Linked DNA regions of Homo sapiens: regions 2, 3 and 4 are each linked to region 1. Evidence: promoter capture Hi-C in 16 types of primary human blood cells and fetal thymus (Javierre and others, 2016). All regions are on one chromosome and are shown on one strand. Each heading gives the region's core, a stretch centred on a gene start or on the middle of the fragment in contact. The rest is flanking DNA. Distances are from core to core; before and after follow the strand shown. Region 1 holds the start of KMT2B (lysine methyltransferase 2B). Region 2 overlaps USF2 (upstream transcription factor 2, c-fos interacting). Region 3 overlaps CD22 (CD22 molecule). Region 4 holds the start of FFAR3 (free fatty acid receptor 3).

Region 1 (5,378 bases), core at 1,744-4,243:
GGAGGAGCCAGAGAAACCCTCAAGGAATCCTGAGAGAGAACTGGGGGACCCTGGAGAGAAGCAGAAACCAGAACAGGTTTCTAGAACTGGTGGGAGAGAACAGGAGATGTTGCACAAGCACTCGCCACCAAGAGGCAGACCCGAGATGGCAGGAGCAACGCAGGAGGCTCAGCAGGAACAGACCAGGTCAAAGGAGAAACGCCTCCAAGCCCCTGTTGGCCAAAGGGGAGCAGATGGGAAGCATGGAGTGCTCACGTGGTTGAGGGAAAATCCAGGGGGCTCTGAGGAAAGTCTGCGCAAGCTCCCTGGCCCCCTTCCCCCAGCAGGCTCCCTGCAAACCAGCGTCACCCCTAGGCCCTCGTGGGCTGAGGCCCCTTGGTTGGTGGGGGGCCAGCCTGCCCTGTGGAGCATCCTGCTGATGCCGCCCAGATATGGCATTCCCTTCTACCATAGCACCCCCACCACTGGAGCCTGGCAGGAGGTCTGGCGGGAACAGAGGTGAGTGGCGGGGTCTAGTGCTCTGCCTCCAGGCTGGGAGGGCATGGCCCAGGAGGGGCAGCCCTGCTGGGTGGAAGGGCACTGCATCTCTACTGCACAGTTCCTGAGCTGGGGAAGAGACAAGAAGCTGCTGCCACAGGGCACGCCAAAGCCCAGCCCCCGGGGGAGGACTTGGGATACCCCCTCTTCACGAAGGGGCCAGGCTCCCAGGTTTAGCCAAGGCTGTAACTCTTCCCCACCCCATCCCAGGATCCCACTGTCCCTAAATGCCCCCAAAGGGCTCTGGAGCCAGAACCAGTTGGCCTCCTCCAGCCCTACCCCAGGTAAGCCCCTCGCTGTCCTGCATACACCTGTAACATGGTGTCTTCTCTGGGCTGGGGCTCGAGGAGTCCAGCCTGAGCAGGGCCCCTACCTCCCACTGTTCCTTCCAGGTTCCCTCCCCCAGGGCCCCGCACAGCTCAGCCCTGGGGAGATGGAAGAGTCTGATCAGGGGCACACAGGTGAGTCGGGCGGGGGCACTCGTGCCTCAGCCCCACTGTAGCCCTTGATTTCCTGCCTGAATGGTACAGTGAGTTGGCGCTGGGATTCCTGGCCCTGCCCTCCTTTGCCTTCTCTGTCCCCACAGGCGCACTTGCAACCTGTGCGGGTCATGAGGACAAGGCAGGCTGCCCACCTCGCCCGCACCCTCCCCCGGCCCCTCCTGCTCGGTCTCGGCCCTATGCGTGCTCTGTCTGTGGAAAGAGGTTTTCACTCAAGCATCAGATGGAGACGCACTACCGAGTCCACACAGGTATGGGCGCCCTGCCCTGTGTGAACTGTCGGCTTTCTTCCCAACTCCGCTCCTGAGTCTCCACCTGTGTGCCCGGTTCCCGCGCAATCCCCTAGCCCCGTGGCCCGATCCACCCCTAACTTGGCCAGCTTTCGCCGCCTTCTTCCTTCCTTCACCGGCCTCCCCTTCCGACCGCTCTAGGAGAGAAGCCCTTCTCCTGTAGCCTTTGTCCTCAGCGCTCCCGGGACTTCTCGGCCATGACCAAGCACCTGCGGACACACGGGGCCGCTCCGTACCGCTGCTCCCTGTGCGGGGCCGGCTGTCCCAGCCTGGCCTCCATGCAGGCGCACATGCGCGGTCACTCGCCCAGCCAACTCCCGCCCGGATGGACCATCCGCTCCACCTTCCTCTACTCCTCCTCGAGGCCGTCTCGGCCCTCGACCTCTCCCTGTTGTCCTTCTTCCTCCACCACCTGACGGGGTGTCGGTAGCGTCTTAGCCAAGAGTCCAATTAAAGAACGAAAAGCGGGCCGGCTCGGCTTCTGACCTGGCACCGCTGCTACGGCGGCCTAGCAAATTCCGCCCCAGAAGCGCCCCAGGAAGGGCGCCGAGTGCCCTCTCCTGGACGATCGCGGGTCGCAGAAGCCCAGGCCAGCGAGCCCTACAGAGTGAGGACACTGAAGTGTGCAGGAGCGAAGGTTAACAGTAGGGGAGATTGTCGATCTCATCACCATAATAAAGAGTTTCCTGTGCCCTCCCTTCAGGACTAGAAAGCCGAGTTTAGTCTGTGCACACCCCCGCCCACGCCCCTTGTCCTGTAGCGGCCCCTGGTGGCCCTGCGTCCGCTGTCCAGCGGGATGGACACTTCTTCCACCCCCGAGGCGCCCCGTCCTCCCCAGGAGGCAGCCGGCCCCGAGGACTCGGTGTCCGGGCACACCTTGCGGCATGCCGGTCCTGGACTGGTGGGGGCTGTGCGACCGCAAGTCACTCGCCCCTTCCACTGCAATCCACGGCGCGCGGAGTCTGATCTGGGAACGCTCGGCCCGGGAGAGAGAGGAACGCGTGCTCCGACCCTGCTTTCGGCCACCCGCCTCCTCTCCGGGAGCACACGGACCCCGAGACCGCGGCCTCTCCGGCGTCTTCCCTCCACACCGTGCCAAGCCGCCGCCAGGTCGCGCCTGGAACGGAGACTGACTATGCTTTCCACCGCTCCTTCTCCAGCCCACGCCTCCTGCAGCCGCGAACTGCATTTCCCAGGGCCTCGGGGGTCCCGGGGCCCGAGCCCGCGGCACCCTGGGAGTGGTAGTCCACGCGGGCCGCCGGCCTAGCCAAGAACAATGGGAGGAGCCTGGGGCTAGGACCACACCTCCCGGAGACCCGGCAACCCGCTTTCCGGGTCCTGGCCGGGAACCCCGCCGTCCCGGCCCTCGCGCCCTGGCTGCCGGCGGAAGAAGCGAGGCGTCCGGACTACATTTCCCGGAGGCCCCCGCGGTTCGCCCCTCTGCGGCCGCGACGCGGGGGTCTGTGCTCCCCAGGTGCGGTCCGAGGGCGCCGGCCGGCCGCGGACTCCCTCTCCCGTGGTGCCCTGCGCGTGGCCGGCCCGGCCCCCGGTCTCCCGCGGCGGCGCTGGTTGTTGTCGTGCGCCGCGGCCGCCCCGCCCCGCCCCCGCTCTCTCCCCTCCCCCCGGCCCTGCGCACGGGCCGCCCCTCCCCCCGCCTCCCCGGCCCCTCTCACGGTGCCAAGATGGCGGCGGCGGCGGGCGGCGGCAGTTGCCCCGGGCCTGGCTCCGCGCGGGGCCGCTTCCCGGGCCGGCCGCGGGGCGCCGGCGGGGGCGGGGGCCGCGGCGGACGGGGCAACGGGGCCGAAAGAGTGCGGGTAGCTCTGCGGCGCGGCGGTGGCGCGACGGGGCCGGGCGGAGCCGAGCCCGGGGAGGACACGGCCCTGCTCCGTTTGCTGGGGCTCCGCCGGGGCCTGCGCCGGCTCCGCCGCCTGTGGGCCGGCCCGCGGGTCCAGCGGGGCCGGGGACGGGGTCGGGGCCGGGGCTGGGGCCCGAGTCGAGGCTGCGTGCCGGAGGAGGAGAGCAGTGACGGGGAATCCGACGAGGAGGTGAGGCGGTTGGAGGCGTCCCCGGCGCCGGGTGGGGCGGAGGCCGGGGCTTCCAGGGGTCTGGGTTGTCCCGGGGGCGGCGTGGGCAGGCCGGGTCCTCAGGGTTCCTTCGGAGAGACGGGGCACGGAGGGAGGGCGGCTGCATGCAGCTTCCGGGGGAAAGGGCCTCTGGAAGTGGGTAGAGAAGCCCCGGCTGCAGCCAGGCACTCGCGCCCGATGTCGGTCCCGCTGAAGTGTCTTGGGCCGATCCTTTTCGGCAGCTGGCAAAGCTAGGGCGGTGGAGGTTTGGGCGAGGAGGCAGTGGGGACTGCATGTCCAGCCAGTCGTGGTTGACAGCGGCAGCGTGGCCTTGGCAGACAGGTTGGAGCTGTCTGGGCTCTTACCTGTGGGCCGCCCCGCCGGGCCTCGCAACCTCCTGGTTTCTCCAGGGCCCCAGTTTCTCTTGGCATCTCAGGTAGAGTGGTGGAGGGCTTCCTCTTGGGGCTCGGGTTGAACAGGAGTGGGATGAAGGCCGGGACTGGGCACTCTAGCAGGTCAGAGCTCAGCTCAGGATTTCTCCCCCAGCCTTTCAGAACAGGCAGGAAGGTGTGGGTTGCGTTGCCCTGGACGGTTAATAACAACCTGAGAGCTCGCAGTGGAGCCTGTACGAAAGCCATCTGATGCCCTCCCCGCCCCTTCACTTGCGGGCCCCTGTTCCCAACTTAATGCAGAAATAAATTGTGGCCCGAAAGGGTGTCAGTGGAGGTCCCACTTTGGTCTGAATTGGACTCTGAAGGAATCTGAGTATGGGGCCTGCTGCCTTTCCTGAGGAGACCCTGTCGTCTTCTCTCTTGGGCCAGTGAACCATGGCTTTGGCTGTGCTGGTGTGGTCCGGCACTGGGGATCGGAGTTCGAAATACCTGGCGCCTCCATCCCTAGGGAGAGACCCTCTCTTCCACTACCCGCGACCTTTGAGTCTTTTTCGTTCTTTTTAAATAGGCAGGGGTATGCTAAGTGGGAACTGGGGATATTCCTCGATACCTCAGATGGAACGAGGGCTTTGGCACTGACTGCTGTTTCTCCCCTCCACCCCGGTCCCCTAAATCAGGAGTTTCAGGGTTTTCATTCAGATGAAGATGTGGCCCCCAGTTCCCTGCGCTCTGCGCTCCGATCCCAGCGAGGTGAGTGACGGGGGAACTCCACCTCTTTAGCGTCACAGGAATTTATCCTCGCCCTTCGTGTCAGCTCTTCCCTGTTCAACTAGCCTCTGTCAGTTGCCGAATGTGTTCTGTGTTCAGAGTCCAAGCTAGTCTGGGCAGCGGGGGAAACACACAAGCAAGACTTAGTCCCTGCCCTCCTGGAGCGCCTTCCTCTGTGTGTAGGGCTGGCTTGATCCATCTCCCCACAACTATTCTCCTTTTAGGTCGAGCGCCCCGAGGTCGGGGTCGCAAGCATAAGACGACCCCCCTTCCTCCTCCTCGCCTAGCAGATGTGGCTCCTACCCCCCCAAAGACCCCTGCCCGGAAACGGGGTGAGGAAGGCACAGAACGGATGGTGCAGGCACTGACTGAACTTCTCCGGCGGGCCCAGGCACCCCAAGCACCCCGGAGCCGGGCATGTGAGCCCTCCACCCCCCGGCGGTCTCGGGGACGGCCCCCAGGACGGCCAGCAGGCCCCTGCAGGAGGAAGCAGCAAGCAGTAGTGGTGGCAGAAGCAGCTGTGACAATCCCCAAACCTGAGCCCCCACCTCCTGTGGTTCCAGTGAAACATCAGACTGGCAGCTGGAAATGCAAGGAGGGGCCCGGTCCAGGACCTGGGACCCCCAGGCGTGGAGGACAGTCAAGCCGTGGAGGCCGTGGAGGCAGGGGCCGCGGCCGAGGTGGTGGGCTCCCCTTTGTGATCAAGTTTGTTTCAAGGGCCAAAAAAGTAAAGATGGGACAATTGTCCTTGGGACTCGAATCAGGTCAAGGTCAAGGTCAACATGAGGAAAGTTGGCAGGATGTCCCCCAAAGAAGAGTTGGATCTGG
Region 2 (5,378 bases), core at 732-3,231, 440 kb before region 1:
ACTGCAGGAGCTTATCCCAGAGTCACAGACTCAAATGCCTGCAGGGGCCTGAGGGAGGGAGGTGCACTTGGCATCTCAGGAAGGGGTGTGTGGCTGGGTGTGGTGGCTCCCGCCCGGAATCCCAGCACTTTTGGGATTACATTTTGGCCAAGACGGACGGATCACTTGAGCCCAGGAGTTTGAGACCATCCTAGGCAATGTGACAAAACCCTGTCTCTACCAAAAAAATTAAAAATTAGCCAGGCCTGGTGGTACATGCCTGTAACAGTCCCAGCTACTTGGGAACCTGTGGTGGGAAGATGGCTTGAGTCCGGGAGACAGAGGTTGCAGTGAGCTGAGATTACCCTCCAGCCTGAGCAACAGACCCAGACCTTGTGTCAGAAAAAGATAGGAAAGGTTGTGGGGGGCCCCCAGTGATCTGGGGCATGTGTGCGCTGCCTGAAGGGTGGCCCTTGCCCAGTGCCTTCCCCTTGCTGCCCTGTCAGAATCTAGGGCCACTGTTGCCAGAAACTCTGAGAAGCTAGAAATCGAGACTTATGTGAAATCTGATTTTTAGGTGCCAGATTAGATTGCTTTTTCCGTTTCATTGATTTCTACTCTTAATGTTACTAATTCATGCTTCTACTCACTTGGTTTTTTGTTTGTTTGTTGTTTTGTTTTGAGATGGAATCTCGCTCTGTCACAGTGGCGCAATCTCAGCTTACTACAACCTCTGCCTCCCCGGTTCAAGTGATTCTCCTGCCTCAGTCTCCCAAGTAGCTGGGACTACAGGTGCCCGCTGCCACACCTAGCTAGTTTTTGTATTTTTGGTAGAGACGGGGTTTCACCATGTTGGCCAGGCTGGTCTCGAACTCCTGGCCTCAGGTTATCCACCTGCCTCAGCCTCCCAAAGTGCTGGGATTACAGGAGTGAGCCACTGCACCCGGCCCCTTCTACTCACTTTGGATTCAATTTGCTAGGTTTCATGCTTTAGCTTCCCTGGCACACCCCAACCCCAGCTTTTTAAGGTAATTCTTTTTTTTTTTTTTTTTCCAATTTTCTACTAAAATCTTTATTTTACAGGATTAATGTTTCACAGCAGGGATTGAGATGATTCTTAACCTTTCTCTTTGCTTAACAACATTTAGAGTTGCCAGTTCACTCCAGCATCACTTTAGCTACATCCCACTGGGATATGTTGTTTTTGTTATCATTCAGTTTAAAGTGTTTTCCAATTTTCCTTGTGATTTCTTCTTTGACCTTTCTGTTATTTGGAGGCAGGTTGCTTAATTTCCAAATATTTGTGGGTTTTTCAGATATCTTTTTGTTATTGATTTTTAATTTAGTTCTGTTATGGTCAGAGAACATACTCTGTATGATTTCAGTTCCTTGAAATTCGATGAGACTTACCCGACGGGCCCGAATGTGTCCTAGCTTGGCGGAAGCTTCTGGGGCATTGACGAGGACAGGTGTCTGCTGCTGTCAGGCAGAATGTCCCCCCAGGTCAGTGAGGTCAGGCTGGTTGAGTGTTCAGGCTTTCTATTCTGATTTTTGTTGTTGTTGTTTACTTGTTCCACCAATCAATGAGAAAGATGTCCATGTCTCTCACTATATTTGTGGATTTGTCCATTTCTTCCTTCAGTCCTGGCAGGTTTCGCTTCTGAATTTTCTCTTTTTTTTTTTTTTTTTTTTGAGACAGAGTCTCGCTCTGTCACCCAAGCTGGTGTGCAATGATGTGGTCTCGGCTCACTACAACCTCCACCTCTTGGGTTCAAGCAATTCTCGTGCTTCAGCCTCCCAAGTCGCTGGGATTATAGGCATGCACTGCTATGCCTGGCTAATTTTTGCATTTTTAGTAGAGCCGGGGTTTCGCCATGTTGGCCAGGCTGGTCTCAAACTCCTGGCCTCATGTGATCCACCCTCCCAAAGTGCTGGGATTACAGGCGTGAGCCACCCCACCCAGCTTCTGAATTTTAAGTTTCCTATGGAGTAACTGAAGTGCTTCTGTGGAATGAACGTGGCCTTGGTCCTAATGGGTCTTCCTGTATTTCAAATGTGCCATGATGGTCTTCCGAAGCCACAGGCTGGACAGCATTACCGCCTGCTAATGTCAGGGCCTGGATTCAAGGGCCTGGGACTCTGGAGGAGGAGGAGATGCGGTCCTGACCTGCGAGCAGAGCACACAAGGCCTTGACAACCGATCTTTACAACCTTTTCCCACCCCTGCATACCCTGAAATGGTTTTCAGGCCACCATTTCTGGGATCTTCCCAGCTGCCTGCCTTAGAGTCTTTCTCTCAGAAACCAGCCCGAATGTTTCCTGGATCTCTGAGGATTCATCCCACCCCCATTCCCATGCAGAGGCCATGGCTCGGCGCCTGGCGTTCCCGAGGCACTTTGTACCATCTTCAGTGATGACACGAATGCAATGGGGTTAGTGCCACTTGCCCACAGTGGTGCTGCGAGTGCCCATGGGGCGCACCGGGGCTGCTTCCACCCTGGACCCCAGCCTGGCGGAGGGCCTGGCACATAGTAGGGCGGGGAGTAGGTGTGTAAGAAGTAAGCTTGCTCTGGAGAGGATGTACCTGCAGCCGGCGCCCAGCTCTCGAGAGGACTGTGGGAGGGCAGAGGCTGAAACGAGGCCGCCTGCCGAGTTCCTCCACAGACCCCTGGGCGAGGAGCGCTCTGCTGGGGACTGCGCCAGCGGTGCCTCCAGGCCTGGACTCTCAGCTCCGCTGCTGCTTTTGGCCAGAGTTCCCAAAGGCGGGTGTGGTTGTCTTTGGTGGGAAGGTTCAGCGCACCGCGATAGTAATAGGGGAGCAAGCACTCGCTGAGCCCAGTGCAGGGCCTGGACCGTGCTCCATAGCAAGCACTGATCTTGGGCTATTGGTTTTGGAGGAAAGAGGGAGCACAAGGATGGAAGGGGCCAGGGAAGAGAGGTCACGGTGGGAGAAGGAGAGTCCGCATCCATCGGAGGGTTTGTCACTCAGGCCTGAGTGGGAGGCACTGGAGGCAGGGAGAGGCCAGTCAGCAGCATGCGGCCACAGCCCAGAGAAGCCAGAGGGGTTTGCTGGTGGGTGGGCCCCAGCCTTTTCAAGGGAACGGCAGGTCTGGGGAGCTGCCGATCTCGGGGTGTGAGGGTAACGGGCAGGCTGTGGCCCACCCCTCCTTCTCAGGCTCACTGGACCCCTGACCGGTTTCATCACCATTATCCAAGGCTTTGAAAAGACCCCCTGGCCTTCCTGCCACATGTGCCCTAGCTATAGGGCTTCGTTCCCCTCCACAAATGGTGCAGACAGCATGAGCCACCCTGGCAGGGGGCTGGGGGTCCGTGGGGTAGGAGTTGGGGGTAGCTGAGCGTTCTTTCCTGTCCCCACGGTGCCTGGTGCTGGGGCTTGGCAGCCAGGGTTGGGACAGCCTGGCTTTAGCAGGTCCTGAGTCAGGGGTCTCAGGCTCCGCAGCACACAGTCCCCAGGCAGGTGTCAGGATGGGATGTGGCCAGAGAAAGGCATGTGCTCTGTCTGGGGATAGCTGCCACCCAGCTGACACAGTTGGCATGAGATTGTGGAGTTTTATGGAGTAAAATCACAAATCTGGGTTTTTTAAGTAAAACCTTCTATGAGTTGCCATCTCTGGCCTTCAACATAGGATTTGGGTCTTTCCTGGGTGAGCTGGTGCTTTGTGGGCCAGGCCCTGGGAGCTGCAAGTACCAGTTGGGATCTGCCATTGCCCTGTGGAAGGATTTTAAGCAGGGGTGAAACATGGTCAGACTTGGATTTAGAGATGAGGAAAAAAAACAAAATCACGGTGCCAGAGTCTCTGGGGAGACTGGAGAATGCAGTGCAGGGGCCGCAGGAGCCAAAAAGGGGCACTGGTCCTGCGAAGAGTGGCTCTGTCCATCCCTGCCTTCCAGTATGTGCCCACTGTGACCAGAGCTCCATTTCTCAAAAGAAGCCAGTGATGCCAATTACCATGAGAAATTTCCTTATTTTTAACTGTCGATTAAAATTTGTACAAGTATGGTGGGGCAGGCCTGCAAAATGATCTCCAAGTGCCTGGCCTTTGATGCCCGTCCTAAAAGCATGTGTGGCACTGGAGGGCCCACGTTTCTTTGTTCCTCTTGAGAAGCTGGGGTGGGGGCCGGCTGGGCTCAGGGTGCGGCCCCTCACTTCCCAGGGCTGTGGTCTCGGTGGGGCCTGCACTGTTCCTGGGTGTCCTTGGGCTGAGCCTCTGCCCTGTGAGGACGGCCGCTCAGGCATGATCCGTCAGCGAAGCCGTGGCTGTGACTCTGTTTTCCGCAGTGGAGCGGAGGCGGAGGGACAAGATCAACAACTGGATCGTCCAGCTTTCGAAAATCATTCCAGACTGTAACGCAGACAACAGCAAGACGGGAGCGGTGAGCACCCCGGACCCTCAGTGTCTGCGGTGGTCCCGGCCCCCGACCCTTGCATGCAGAAAGTCCAACAGCCATGGGGCTCGGGAGTCATCCCTGGGGTGGAGGCCGGTGGGCGGTGCCTGCCCTAAGGCTCCTGGTCCCCTCGCCCCCCAGAGTAAAGGAGGGATCCTGTCCAAGGCCTGCGATTACATCCGGGAGTTGCGCCAGACCAACCAGCGCATGCAGGAGACCTTCAAAGAGGCCGAGCGGCTGCAGATGGACAACGAGCTCCTGAGGCAGCAGGTGGGTGCGGGGCCTGGAGCGGGTCAGGGCCCAGGAGCCCCAGATGCAAGGCGCTGGCCCTCAGCTCCCTTGACCTCCGTCGTGTCCGCCAGATCGAGGAGCTGAAGAATGAGAACGCCCTGCTTCGAGCCCAGCTGCAGCAGCACAACCTGGAGATGGTGGGCGAGGGCACCCGGCAGTGACGCCCGCCACCACCACGCAGCCGCCGCCGCCCACGCCGGCCTCTGCTGCCCCCTTCCCCAGCCCTTAGCACAGAGAGGGACACATGCCCCTCCCCCAGCTGCGTTTTTTTATAGTAGATTTTTAACAAAAAACGGGGAGAAATAATGCATTTCTGTGGATACAGTGCCCACCGCCCTCCTCCACTTGGAAACGGTATCCTCCCTGCCCATCCGTCTGTCTGTCGCCCTTCTCCCGGCCCTCACTAAGCCCCGGCACTTCTAGTGGTCTCACCTGGAGGCAAGAGGGAGGGGACAGAGGCCCTGCCACGTCCCGCTGCCTCCTGCTCTCTGGAGGTACTGAGACAGGGTGCTGATGGGAAGGAGGGGAGCCTTTGGGGGGCCACCCGGGGCCTGGACCTATGCAGGGAGGCCACGTCCCACCCCACCTCTTGTTTCTGGGTCCCTGCTCCCCTTTGGGGGTGTGTGTGTGTGTTTTAATTTTCTTTATGGAAAAATTGACAAAAAAAAAATAGAGAGAGAGGTATTTAACTGCAATAAACT
Region 3 (5,378 bases), core at 1,870-4,369, 380 kb before region 1:
AATGCAACCAGACCCGGTCCTCCCGGATCCAGGGGAAGGGTCGGAGCTCAGTGGGTGAGCAAGAAAAGCCACGTGGAAGAAGTAAGCGGCCAGATGGCTCAAAGACAAACTCTCCCCTGCTCAGGCTTGCACCCAGACACGACACCATGCATCTCCTCGGCCCCTGGCTCCTGCTCCTGGGTAAGGACTGTGGCCTGGGCTAGTACTGGGGTTCTGGGATGTCAGTGGGCACTGGAGGAGGAGGAAAGACCCAGGCAGAGAGGCGTCAACATAGGGTAGGGTGGGGGCAGCGGTGTGTATAGATAAATGTACATACAAATATATATGTTTCCCATATATACATACACTTCTCTCATTGCATCCTGCTGTCTTTGTGTATCTCTGTATTTCTCCCACTATCTTCAGAGGGAATTCTTTAGTCTTTAGAAAGCTCTCTGCTGGGTGCAGTGGCTCATGCCTGAAATCTCAGCACTTTGTGAGGCTGAGGTGGGAGGATCACTTGAGGTCAGGAGTTCAAGGCCAGCTTGGACAACATAGCAAGACCCCTATCTCTAAAAAGAATAAAAAATTAAACAAATTTTAAAATAAAAAATAACTTTTAAAAGAAGGCTCTCATGCCCCCTTAGTAATGCTTTCTGATCACTGTGGTGAGTTCTAGAATACTTGGCTTTCTCTGACTCAAGTAAATGGGTTTTTGAGCACCCTGAAACCCTCTACGCCTGGGAGGGGGCCTGCGTCTGGATCCCCTGCACCTACAGAGCCCTAGATGGTGACCTGGAAAGCTTCATCCTGTTCCACAATCCTGAGTATAACAAGAACACCTCGAAGTTTGATGGGACAAGACTCTATGAAAGCACAAAGGATGGGAAGGTTCCTTCTGAGCAGAAAAGGGTGCAATTCCTGGGAGACAAGAATAAGAACTGCACACTGAGTATCCACCCGGTGCACCTCAATGACAGTGGTCAGCTGGGGCTGAGGATGGAGTCCAAGACTGAGAAATGGATGGAACGAATACACCTCAATGTCTCTGGTAAGGCCTTCGGGGAGCGGGTCCTCTGCTCTGGGCAGGGGTGAGTGGGAGGCAGGAAATACCTGACTCCTGGCACAGAGCTCACAAACCGAGCTTCCTGCAGAGCTCAGGCAGGGGACGCCAGCGGATGACGATGGCGATGCAGCAGCACTAGACAGAGCTGCGGGACCTCGGATGTCCCATCTGACCCTCAGTTCCTGCCCCTCTGGGACCTGGATTCCAAAGTTATCGGATCTCCTGATCTTTCCCTCTTTCTTTCTCACCATGTATTTTTCAGCTTTTGTGACAAACTCGTGTTTGGCCTTAGTACTGGAACCATCCAAGCACCGCATTCCTTTAGTGGGGTGGGTCTGCATGTAACCAGCCTCAGCTCTCCCCCAGGCTGGACCGCCCCCTTCAGACATTGGGGTCTGAAGCTGCATCGCTCACCCCAAACTTAGGGCTGCTCAGAGCTCCCTATAGAGGAAACTGGGTGTGGAACGGAGTAACCACACTCCCTAGGGCAGAGGCCCCAGACCTGTGTTTGATGGGTCAAATCCACCCCTACATGTGCAGTGCCATAACTGAGCCTGTGTTATAAAAATCATAAAATGTTTGTTTTACTTTTTTTCCTCTTCTTTTCCCCTTCCCCTTCCTTTCCCTTTTTATGAGACAGGGTCTCGCACTGTCATCACCCAGGCTGGAGTGCAGTGGCGCGATCTCAGCTCACTGCAGCCTTGATCTCCCGGGTTCAAGCAATCCTCCCACCTCCAAAGTAGCTAGGATCACAGGTGCATGCCACCATGCCCAGCTAACTTTTTAATTTGTTGTAGAAATGGGTCTTGCTATGTTGCCAGGCTGGTCTTGAACTCCTGGCCTCAAGCAATCCTCCTGCTTCAACCTCTCAAAGCATTAGGATTACAGGCATGAGTCACCGCACCCGGCCTGATCTTCTGATTTTTCAAGAGACGATGGAAATCTAGATTTTCCAGTGAAATCTCCCAGCATGTTAATGTTCATGGCAAGTTCTCATGAGCTCTTCAAGGTCAGATGACACTGTTGTTGAACCCCAAAGGCCAGGTTTGAGCTCCCGATGCGTAGTCAGCCAAACACTGACACCTCAGTGCTTAGAAGCTGAGATAGGATTATTTAATTTAGCCAAAGCAAGGGGACAGAAGAGAGAAACTCTCAAATCTGACCTGACTTTGAGCGTTAGTGGGGGCTTTTATGAGTAAAGTAGGTGTGCAGGAGGTGACCTCCCGATCGTCAAAGCTGTTGTGCCCCTCGGCTCATCAAATTTCTGGATGTCATCAAGGAGGTCTGTGTGACCTAAGGATCATTGTTCTTTGAAAGAGAGACAAGTTCATTTATCTTGCAGGCAGCTGCCAGGGAGTCAGGATGTAAGTTAAACAATTATGAGTGAATTAATGGTTACCTGCTACTGAAATGACCAAATGTAACTAATCATGCATGGAGGAAGGAAAGGACAAAGAGAAAAGAAAAGAAGTAAAACGAACATCTTATAATTTTTATAACATAGGTTCAGTTATAGCACTGCACATGTAGGGGTGGCTTTGACCCATCAAACACAGGTGTGGGGGGCCCCTGCCACAGGGAGTGTGGTCACTCCGTTCCACACCGTTTCCCGGATGGGCAGTTCTGAGCAGCCTTAAATTTGGGGTGAGCAATGCAACTTCAGACCCCGCTGTCTGAAGGAGGTGGTCCAGCCTTGGGGAGAGCTGAGGCTGGGTGCACACAGACCCACTCCACTAAAGGAATGCGGTGCGTGGATGGCTGCAATACTGAAGGAAGCCATGAAAGTAACACAAGTTTGTCAAAGCTGAAAAGTCCGTGAACTAAACTGATAAAATTCACTTAGAGGTGGTGGGAATAGGCCGGGCACGGTGGCTCACGCCTGTAATCCCAGAACTTTGGGAGGCCGAGGCAGGCGGATCACAAGGTCAGGAGATCGAGACCATCCTGACTAACACAGTGAAACCCTGTCTCTACTAAAAATGCAAAAAGTTAGCCAGGCGTGGTGGCAGGCGCCTGTAGTCCCAGCTACTCAGGAGGCTGAGGCAGGAGAATGGCGTGAACCCGGAAGGTGGAGCTTGCAGTGAGCTGAGATCACGCCACTACACTCCAGTCCGGGCGACAGAGCGAGACTCTGTCTCAAAAAAAAAAAAAAAAAAAAAAGAGGTGGTGAGGTGGTGGGAATAGAACTTTGCAATCATTCAGAAAGCAGACATCCGGCAATGAGCATGAAAGAAAAGTAGATCACAGTTCCCAAGGAGGCTTAGTGTGGTCAAGGCCTTTCAGAGGGGATTTCGGGTGAGCAAAAGTGATTCAAAGTGGAGAAAAGCAGGACTGCGTTGGGTGCAGTGGTTCCCGCCTGTAACCCCAGCACTTTGGGAGGCTGAGATCGGAGGATCGTTTGAGCCCAGGAGTTTGAGACCAGCCTGGGTAACATGGCAAGACCCTGTCTCTACAAAATGTTTAAAAAACTAGCTAGGTGTGGTGGCACATGCCTGTAGTCCCAGTTACTCAGGGGGCTGAGGTGAGAGGATTGCTTGAGCCTAGGAGGTTGAGGCTACAGTGAGCTAGGATTGCGCCACTGCACTCCAGCCTGGGTGACAAAGCAAGACCCTGTCTCTAAAGAAAAAAAGAGGCCGGGTGTGGTGGCTTACACCTGTAATCCCAGCACTTTGGGAGGCCAAGGCGGGAGGATCACTTGAGGTCAGGAGTTCAAGACCAGCCTGGCCAACATGGCGAAACCCTGTCTCTACTAGAAATACAGAAAAATTAGCTGGGTGTGGTGGTGGGCACCTGTAATCCCAGCTACTCGGGAGGCTGAGGCAGGAGGATCACTTGAACTGGGGAGGTAGAGGTTACAGCGAGCCAAGATCGCGCCACTGCACTCCAGCCTGGGTGACAGAGGGAAACTCCATCTCAAAAAAACAACAACACAACAACAACAACAATAACAACAAAAAAACAAAGCAGGACTGGAGAGAGGTGGAATGAAGTGGCAAGGGGTTCCTGAGGGGTGATTTGGGACAGGACATCTAAAGCCAGGTGTACGCTCACGTCCTCAGTCCCCCAGGCTCCTGCACGGGCTCTGTTCTTTTGCAGAAAGGCCTTTTCCACCTCATATCCAGCTCCCTCCAGAAATTCAAGAGTCCCAGGAAGTCACTCTGACCTGCTTGCTGAATTTCTCCTGCTATGGGTATCCGATCCAATTGCAGTGGCTCCTAGAGGGGGTTCCAATGAGGCAGGCTGCTGTCACCTCGACCTCCTTGACCATCAAGTCTGTCTTCACCCGGAGCGAGCTCAAGTTCTCCCCACAGTGGAGTCACCATGGGAAGATTGTGACCTGCCAGCTTCAGGATGCAGATGGGAAGTTCCTCTCCAATGACACGGTGCAGCTGAACGTGAAGCGTGAGTCTCCCCGGCATGCCTGTGGGAAGGGCAAGGTCTGTGTCACCTTCTCCCCAGCCCCGCAGGGGGCATGCACCCAGGGCAGGGGGAAGCCTGCACAGACGGCGGCATCCTCCAGCCCTGGTCACGCCGCCTTGTCAGCCCTGGTGTTTCGGGAAAAAGATTTGCTCTAGCCTAACAGAATAAAATGGTCCATCCTCAAGCCATGACATGAATTGGGGATTATCTGGTTAGGTCTTTTTGTTCCCCTCTTGGTGGGGATTTTTTTCGCATCATTATCTTGTGCCTCATTCATTCAATAAATACGTATCATGAACCTACTAGGTACCAGGCCTTATTACGGCTGCCAATGGGGGGCATGGGGCGGTGGGCAGGGTGCAGCAGTGAGCAAAACTCTTGCCCCACGCGGAGCCAGCGCTGCAGTGAAAGAGACAGACAACAAATGGATTACCAAAGAAATACAGAGCATGAGCCAAGACATTAGAATCTGGAACAAAGCAATGTTAACAAAGAAATATACAACACTATTGTAGGTAGTGATATGTGTGTTAGGAAAAAAATAAGGCCGAGAGAGGGGAGTGATGGAGAGAGACCTCTCTAAGAAGGTGAGCACTTAGGCCGGGTGCGGTGGCTCACGCCTGTAATCCTAGCACTTTGGAAGGCCGAGGCGGGGGGATCACAAGGTCAGGAGATCGAGACCATCCTGGCTAACATGGTGAAACCCCATCTCTAGTAAAAATACAAAAAATTAGCCAGGCATGATGGCAGGCGCCTGTAGTCCCAGCTACTTGGGAGGCCAAGGCAGGAGAATGACATGAACCCAGGAGGCGGAGCTTGCAGTGAGCTGAGATCGCACCACTGCACTCCAACCTGGGTGACGAGTGAGACTCCATCTCAAAAAAAGAAAAAAAAAGAAGGTGAGCACTTAAGC
Region 4 (5,378 bases), core at 1,209-3,708, 360 kb before region 1:
TTTGACTCCTGCTCCATAGCCCCTGCTGGGTACTGGGCTGCTTCTCCCAGTTCCTCCTGCCTCCCCCCACTTAGGGCAAATCCAGTGCCTCCCTGGGGCCCAGGAGACTCAGTGTGATCCACCCCAGGCGCCTCTCACTCCTGTGAGACCCAAACCTCCTATCAGCTCCCCCAGCAGGCCAAGTCTGTGCACCCGTGACTCCCCTGCCCCAATGTTCCCTCCAGTGGCTCTTTGCCTCTTCAGTATCCACGTCTTCATGATCCTTCCCCTACTCCATCCCCCAAGCCCTCACCACCAAATGTAATGTAAACAGCATGACAGCAAAAACTTTTTGTTCACAACTGCGTGTTGTTTTTTTTTTTTTTTTTTTTTTTTAGACACAGTCTCACTCTGTTGCTCAGGATGGAGTGCAGTGACACAGTCATGGCTCACTGCAGCCTTGAATTCCTGGGCTCAAGCGATTCTTCCATTTCAGCTTCCCAAGTAGCTGGGACCAGAGGCACATGCCACTAAACCCAGCTAATTTCTTTTTTCTTTCTCTCTTTTTTTTTTTTTTTTCCCCTGTGGACATAGGGTCTCCTCATGTTGCCCAGGCTAGTCTCAAACAACCTGTGCTCAAGCAATCCTCCCACCTCAGCCTGCCAAAGTGCTAAAATTACGGACCTGAGCCACCGTACCCAGCCTACTGCTGCACTTTTAACAGCTTAATTGAGATATTATGTACATATCATCAAATTCACCAATGTTAAGTGTACAATTCAATGATTTTTAGTAAATTTACTGAGGTGTGAGTCCATTACCATCAGCTAGTTTTAGAACATTTTCATGACCCTAGTAAAGGATTTTACTTCATGTTCATTTAAACTTAATCTTGGGCCAGGCGGGGTGGCTCACGCCTATAATCTCAGCATTTTGGGAGGCTGGGGTGGACGGATCACCTGAGGTCAGTAGTTCGAGACCAGCCTGGCCAACATGGCGAAACCTCATCTCTACTAAACATACAAAAATTAGCCAGGCGTGGTGGCGGGCACCTGTAATCCTAGCTACTTAGGAAGCTGAGGCATGAGAATTTCTTGAACCCGGGAGGCAGAGTTTGCAGTGAGCCAAGATTGCACCATTGCACTCCAGCCTGGGCGACAACAAGACCCTGTCTCAAAAAAAAAAAAAAAAAAAAAAAAACAACTTAATCTTCATTTCTACCTCCATCCCCCAGACAACCACGAGTCTACTTTCTGACTCTATAACTTTGCCTATTCTGGACATATCATATAAATAAATGAAATCTGACAATATATGTACATGGTCTTTTACGTCTGGCTTGTTTCACTCAACATAAGGCTGTAGTGTGTATGGGTAGCTCATTCCTTTTCTTTGCCAAATAGAATTCCAGTATATGGATGTGCCACTTTTTTATTCACTCACCAGCTGATGGGCTGCCAGGTAACATTTCCACTGTTGGTGACTATGACCAACACTGCTGTGAACATTTAGGACTGAGTCTTTAAGTAGACCTGAGTTTCCACTTCTCTTAAGTAAATACCTACGGTGGAATTGTTGGATCGCATGGTGAATTTATGTTTAACTTTTTAAGCAACTGCCACCTGCTTTCCAAAGCAGGGACACCACCTCCCATTATTCTCACCAGCAGTGAATGAGGCCCCTATCTCTCTACATTCTCGCCGACCATAGGCATTGTCTGACTTTTTGCTTGTGGCCATTCTAGTGGATGTGAAATCATATCTCATTGTGCCCTGTGATTGTTTGAATGAACTAATAGATCACCTGTGAAACTGGACAGCACTTGGGTTTGAACCCTAGTGGTGACATTTCACAAGCTGTATCACCTGGAGCAAGTCACTTCCCTACGGTGAAGGACAAGGATTTTATGACATAAAAGCGTTGCCCTAGAAGCAGTGTCTGCTATGGATTATGTGCCCATGAAAAGGCAGCTGCTGTCATCATCGCCACCACCATTATTATTGTTATTATTATTACATTGTCACCCCAGAGATAATCCTGCACCAGTGACAGGGAAAATAGCAGCTGGCATCCGCTGCCTGCTCACGACCACACGCCAGGCTTCCGTCAAACCACTCAACATGTATTAGTAATCTTTTAATCGACCTACATATTGTTTTAATTTGCATGTGTTAATGCGTTGATCTATGAGATGGGTATTATGATGAGCTCTGTTCTGCAGGGGAGAAAGCAGAAACATGGAGAATTTAAGTCATTTCCCCCAAATCACAAAGTCAGGAAGAAACAGACCTCACGGAGCTCGCTCTCTGTCATTGCATCACACTTCCTGCCCTTACAAGGCAAATTGGATAAATGCCATTCTAGAGAAGCAGACAAAATTCAAGTGAAGAAGGGGAGAGGAAGACGTCGGCTGGGGCCTGCTTAGAGCATCCCAGCTGAGACTGCATGAGGAGGGAGGCACGCAGTTGTGGAATTTGTTCCCCTTTTAGCATGCTGACCAGCCCTGGCAACGGAGCTCAAGGCATCTATGTGCCACTGCTCAACAGTGAGTGACGTCATGGGCACGGCCAGGTCTTTATCAGTTCTGCCGGATAAATAGCCAACTGCACTAGGTCTGGAGAGACAGCAAGGTGCTGTGCGGCAGAGCATTTGGGGTCTCAAAGAAGCAGGTGAGCCTGGGCCCGAGGGGCTGGGTGGAGGAGCACCTTGGTGCTTCTCTGCTGGGGAAGGGACAGGGGACAGGGCATGCTCAGGAAGACAGGCAGGCTGACCCCGCCTGGAAGGCACCCAGAGACAAGAGGGGTGGGCGTAGTGACCTCGTGCCCTTTTAGGGGAGATGCTGCTGGCCAGAGGCCGTTAGGGCCCCCACTACCAACTCCATGTTACTCTCTCTCACCAGTGGCCACCACCATGGATACAGGCCCCGACCAGTCCTACTTCTCCGGCAATCACTGGTTCGTCTTCTCGGTGTACCTTCTCACTTTCCTGGTGGGGCTCCCCCTCAACCTGCTGGCCCTGGTGGTCTTCGTGGGCAAGCTGCAGCGCCGCCCGGTGGCCGTGGACGTGCTCCTGCTCAACCTGACCGCCTCGGACCTGCTCCTGCTGCTGTTCCTGCCTTTCCGCATGGTGGAGGCAGCCAATGGCATGCACTGGCCCCTGCCCTTCATCCTCTGCCCACTCTCTGGATTCATCTTCTTCACCACCATCTATCTCACCGCCCTCTTCCTGGCAGCTGTGAGCATTGAACGCTTCCTGAGTGTGGCCCACCCACTGTGGTACAAGACCCGGCCGAGGCTGGGGCAGGCAGGTCTGGTGAGTGTGGCCTGCTGGCTGTTGGCCTCTGCTCACTGCAGCGTGGTCTACGTCATAGAATTCTCAGGGGACATCTCCCACAGCCAGGGCACCAATGGGACCTGCTACCTGGAGTTCCGGAAGGACCAGCTAGCCATCCTCCTGCCCGTGCGGCTGGAGATGGCTGTGGTCCTCTTTGTGGTCCCGCTGATCATCACCAGCTACTGCTACAGCCGCCTGGTGTGGATCCTCGGCAGAGGGGGCAGCCACCGCCGGCAGAGGAGGGTGGCGGGGCTGTTGGCGGCCACGCTGCTCAACTTCCTTGTCTGCTTTGGGCCCTACAACGTGTCCCATGTCGTGGGCTATATCTGCGGTGAAAGCCCGGCGTGGAGGATCTACGTGACGCTTCTCAGCACCCTGAACTCCTGTGTCGACCCCTTTGTCTACTACTTCTCCTCCTCCGGGTTCCAAGCCGACTTTCATGAGCTGCTGAGGAGGTTGTGTGGGCTCTGGGGCCAGTGGCAGCAGGAGAGCAGCATGGAGCTGAAGGAGCAGAAGGGAGGGGAGGAGCAGAGAGCGGACCGACCAGCTGAAAGAAAGACCAGTGAACACTCACAGGGCTGTGGAACTGGTGGCCAGGTGGCCTGTGCTGAAAGCTAGGTCCTCCGGGGGAGGAGGGTGTAGCTGGCATGTCATCCTCAGGGCGCTTCCTCGCTCACGCCAGGAGGGACTTGGAGTGGCGAGCTGGGGCCCGATGGGGCTTGGGGGCAGAGTAGACATCTAGCCTCCCTAAGGGTATGCGCGCTAAAGCCCAGCTCTCGATCTCACCTCCATCCCCATCCACCCACACACTATGGATTGGGCTCTGGGAAGGGGTCAGGGTGAGAGGCTGCTCTGGAGAACAATGAGGTCCTCATAGCAGCAGGCAGCTCCTGTGTTTTCTTGAGGGTGGCAGAGGAGCTAAGAGCAGTGCCCAGGGTCTGAGGGGGCTGCCCAGTGAGTGGCAGGGGCAGGAGAGGGGAGAACCCCATCCTCAGAGCTGCTCCCAGCCAGCGAGTCAGGAGCGGGGGAGACAGGGCTCCAGGGATGAGGCCGCATTCTGCTCCCACAGCGCCTTTTCCAGAAAGTTCCCATTGCTCAATAAATGTGGATCATCAGAGACATTTATGAACAATGACAGAAGAAAAATTACCCAAATAAATGTGGAAGCAAGCAAAAGAGAACAGTGTTTCCTTCTTCTCCTGTTTTGTTCTGGTGGTGTGCTTGGGCCGGGTGGGACTGGTGGATGGAAGGAGAAAACACCAGACTCTGGAGGAAAAGGGCCAAACACCAGGATGCCTGGATGCTGGGAGAGGATCTGGCTTGCAGGGATGAAAATAACAGCTGCCCTGTCTAAAGGACTTGGCCTGACACATCATCTCCTTCTATCTCTCAATAGCCCTGTGAGAGGTACCAGCATTATCCCCAGTTTCAGATGAAGGAGTGGCCCAGAGAGGTGACACCTCCTACCTGAGATCCCATAGCTGGTGGGCGATTGAAGTGGGACCAGAAGCTGGTGTCAGTTGACTCTGACACCCATGCCCCTAAGCCACTCTGCTGTTCTCCATCTGTGTGTCACCTGTGGTCACCTGGCCCAGTCAAATGTCCCAAGTCAGATAAGTCTGTCTGAGCAGGACAAATATAAACAGGCCATGATAAGAAACAGAACTAAATGCAAAGCGTATTGACTATTTGTGTGGGTTCAACCTTTTCCCAGTAAAAAAGCCCTCTTGGAAAAAAAGAAAAAAAGATAATTAGTCAGCACAATGGACTTCAGGTTTCTGCAAAGTCAGAGAGATGTTCCTCAGAGCTCTATTCATCAAAATATGGCCATTCAGGAAGTTTTCATGTTCCCTGAGTGGTGGCCCATGAGAAATAGCTGGTCAGGACCTCCTCCCCAAGCAAGGCCACCTGAGACTCGCCAGCCCCTGTTTGCATGCTGTCAGCAGTATTTCAGAAGCATTTGTTGAACACCTATTGCATGCAGATGGCTGGGCTCAGAACTTCGGGGAGTTCGACACTAAGGTCTTTAAATATCTGCTTCCTCCCTGGGGTTAAGTGTGCCGGGA

The links. The method cuts DNA at HindIII sites, captures the fragments that hold promoters and counts their contacts. A CHiCAGO score of 5 or more calls a contact.
Region 2: a fragment that was not itself captured here is called in contact with the fragment with the promoter of KMT2B in region 1 in 1 of 17 cell types (neutrophils); the score reaches 5.5 in neutrophils.
Region 3: a fragment that was not itself captured here is called in contact with the fragment with the promoter of KMT2B in region 1 in 1 of 17 cell types (neutrophils); the score reaches 5.9 in neutrophils.
Region 4: the fragment with the promoter of FFAR3 here is called in contact with the fragment with the promoter of KMT2B in region 1 in 3 of 17 cell types (M0 macrophages, monocytes and neutrophils); the score reaches 5.7 in M0 macrophages.

The regions. Positions count from the first base shown.
Region 1 is chr19:35,715,010-35,720,387 of GRCh38, forward strand. KMT2B (lysine methyltransferase 2B) reads left to right here and starts at 2,994. Exons shown (of 37, transcript NM_014727.3): 1 at 2,994-3,372; 2 at 4,460-4,532; 3 at 4,775-5,378. The coding sequence starts at 3,010. It overlaps ZBTB32 (zinc finger and BTB domain containing 32), which reads left to right. Exons shown (of 7, transcript NM_014383.3): 3 at 1-498; 4 at 748-821; 5 at 930-998; 6 at 1,124-1,288; 7 at 1,469-2,029. The coding sequence ends at 1,743. RefSeq lists enhancers at 1,547-2,106, 1,659-1,938, 3,226-3,783 and silencers at 2,509-2,988, 3,069-3,118, 3,139-3,208, 3,249-3,328, 3,379-3,428. The HindIII fragment of the contact is 14,363 bases long and covers 1-5,378 here.
Region 2 is chr19:35,274,419-35,279,796 of GRCh38, forward strand. It overlaps USF2 (upstream transcription factor 2, c-fos interacting), which reads left to right. Exons shown (of 10, transcript NM_003367.4): 8 at 4,280-4,374; 9 at 4,528-4,656; 10 at 4,749-5,378. The coding sequence ends at 4,838. Among named protein-coding and RNA genes, the nearest start is that of HAMP, 5.4 kb to the right of the region's middle. The HindIII fragment of the contact is 1,118 bases long and covers 1,423-2,540 here.
Region 3 is chr19:35,331,895-35,337,272 of GRCh38, forward strand. It overlaps CD22 (CD22 molecule), which reads left to right. Exons shown (of 14, transcript NM_001771.4): 2 at 125-180; 3 at 653-1,030; 4 at 4,142-4,447. The coding sequence starts at 147. Among named protein-coding and RNA genes, the nearest start is that of CD22, 5.4 kb to the left of the region's middle. RefSeq lists a silencer at 1,411-1,620. The HindIII fragment of the contact is 4,678 bases long and covers 781-5,378 here.
Region 4 is chr19:35,356,002-35,361,379 of GRCh38, forward strand. It overlaps FFAR3 (free fatty acid receptor 3), which reads left to right and starts at 2,459. Exons shown (of 2, transcript NM_005304.5): 1 at 2,459-2,648; 2 at 2,879-4,488. The coding sequence starts at 2,890. The coding sequence ends at 3,930. RefSeq lists an enhancer at 3,780-4,307. The HindIII fragment of the contact is 8,969 bases long and covers 1-5,378 here.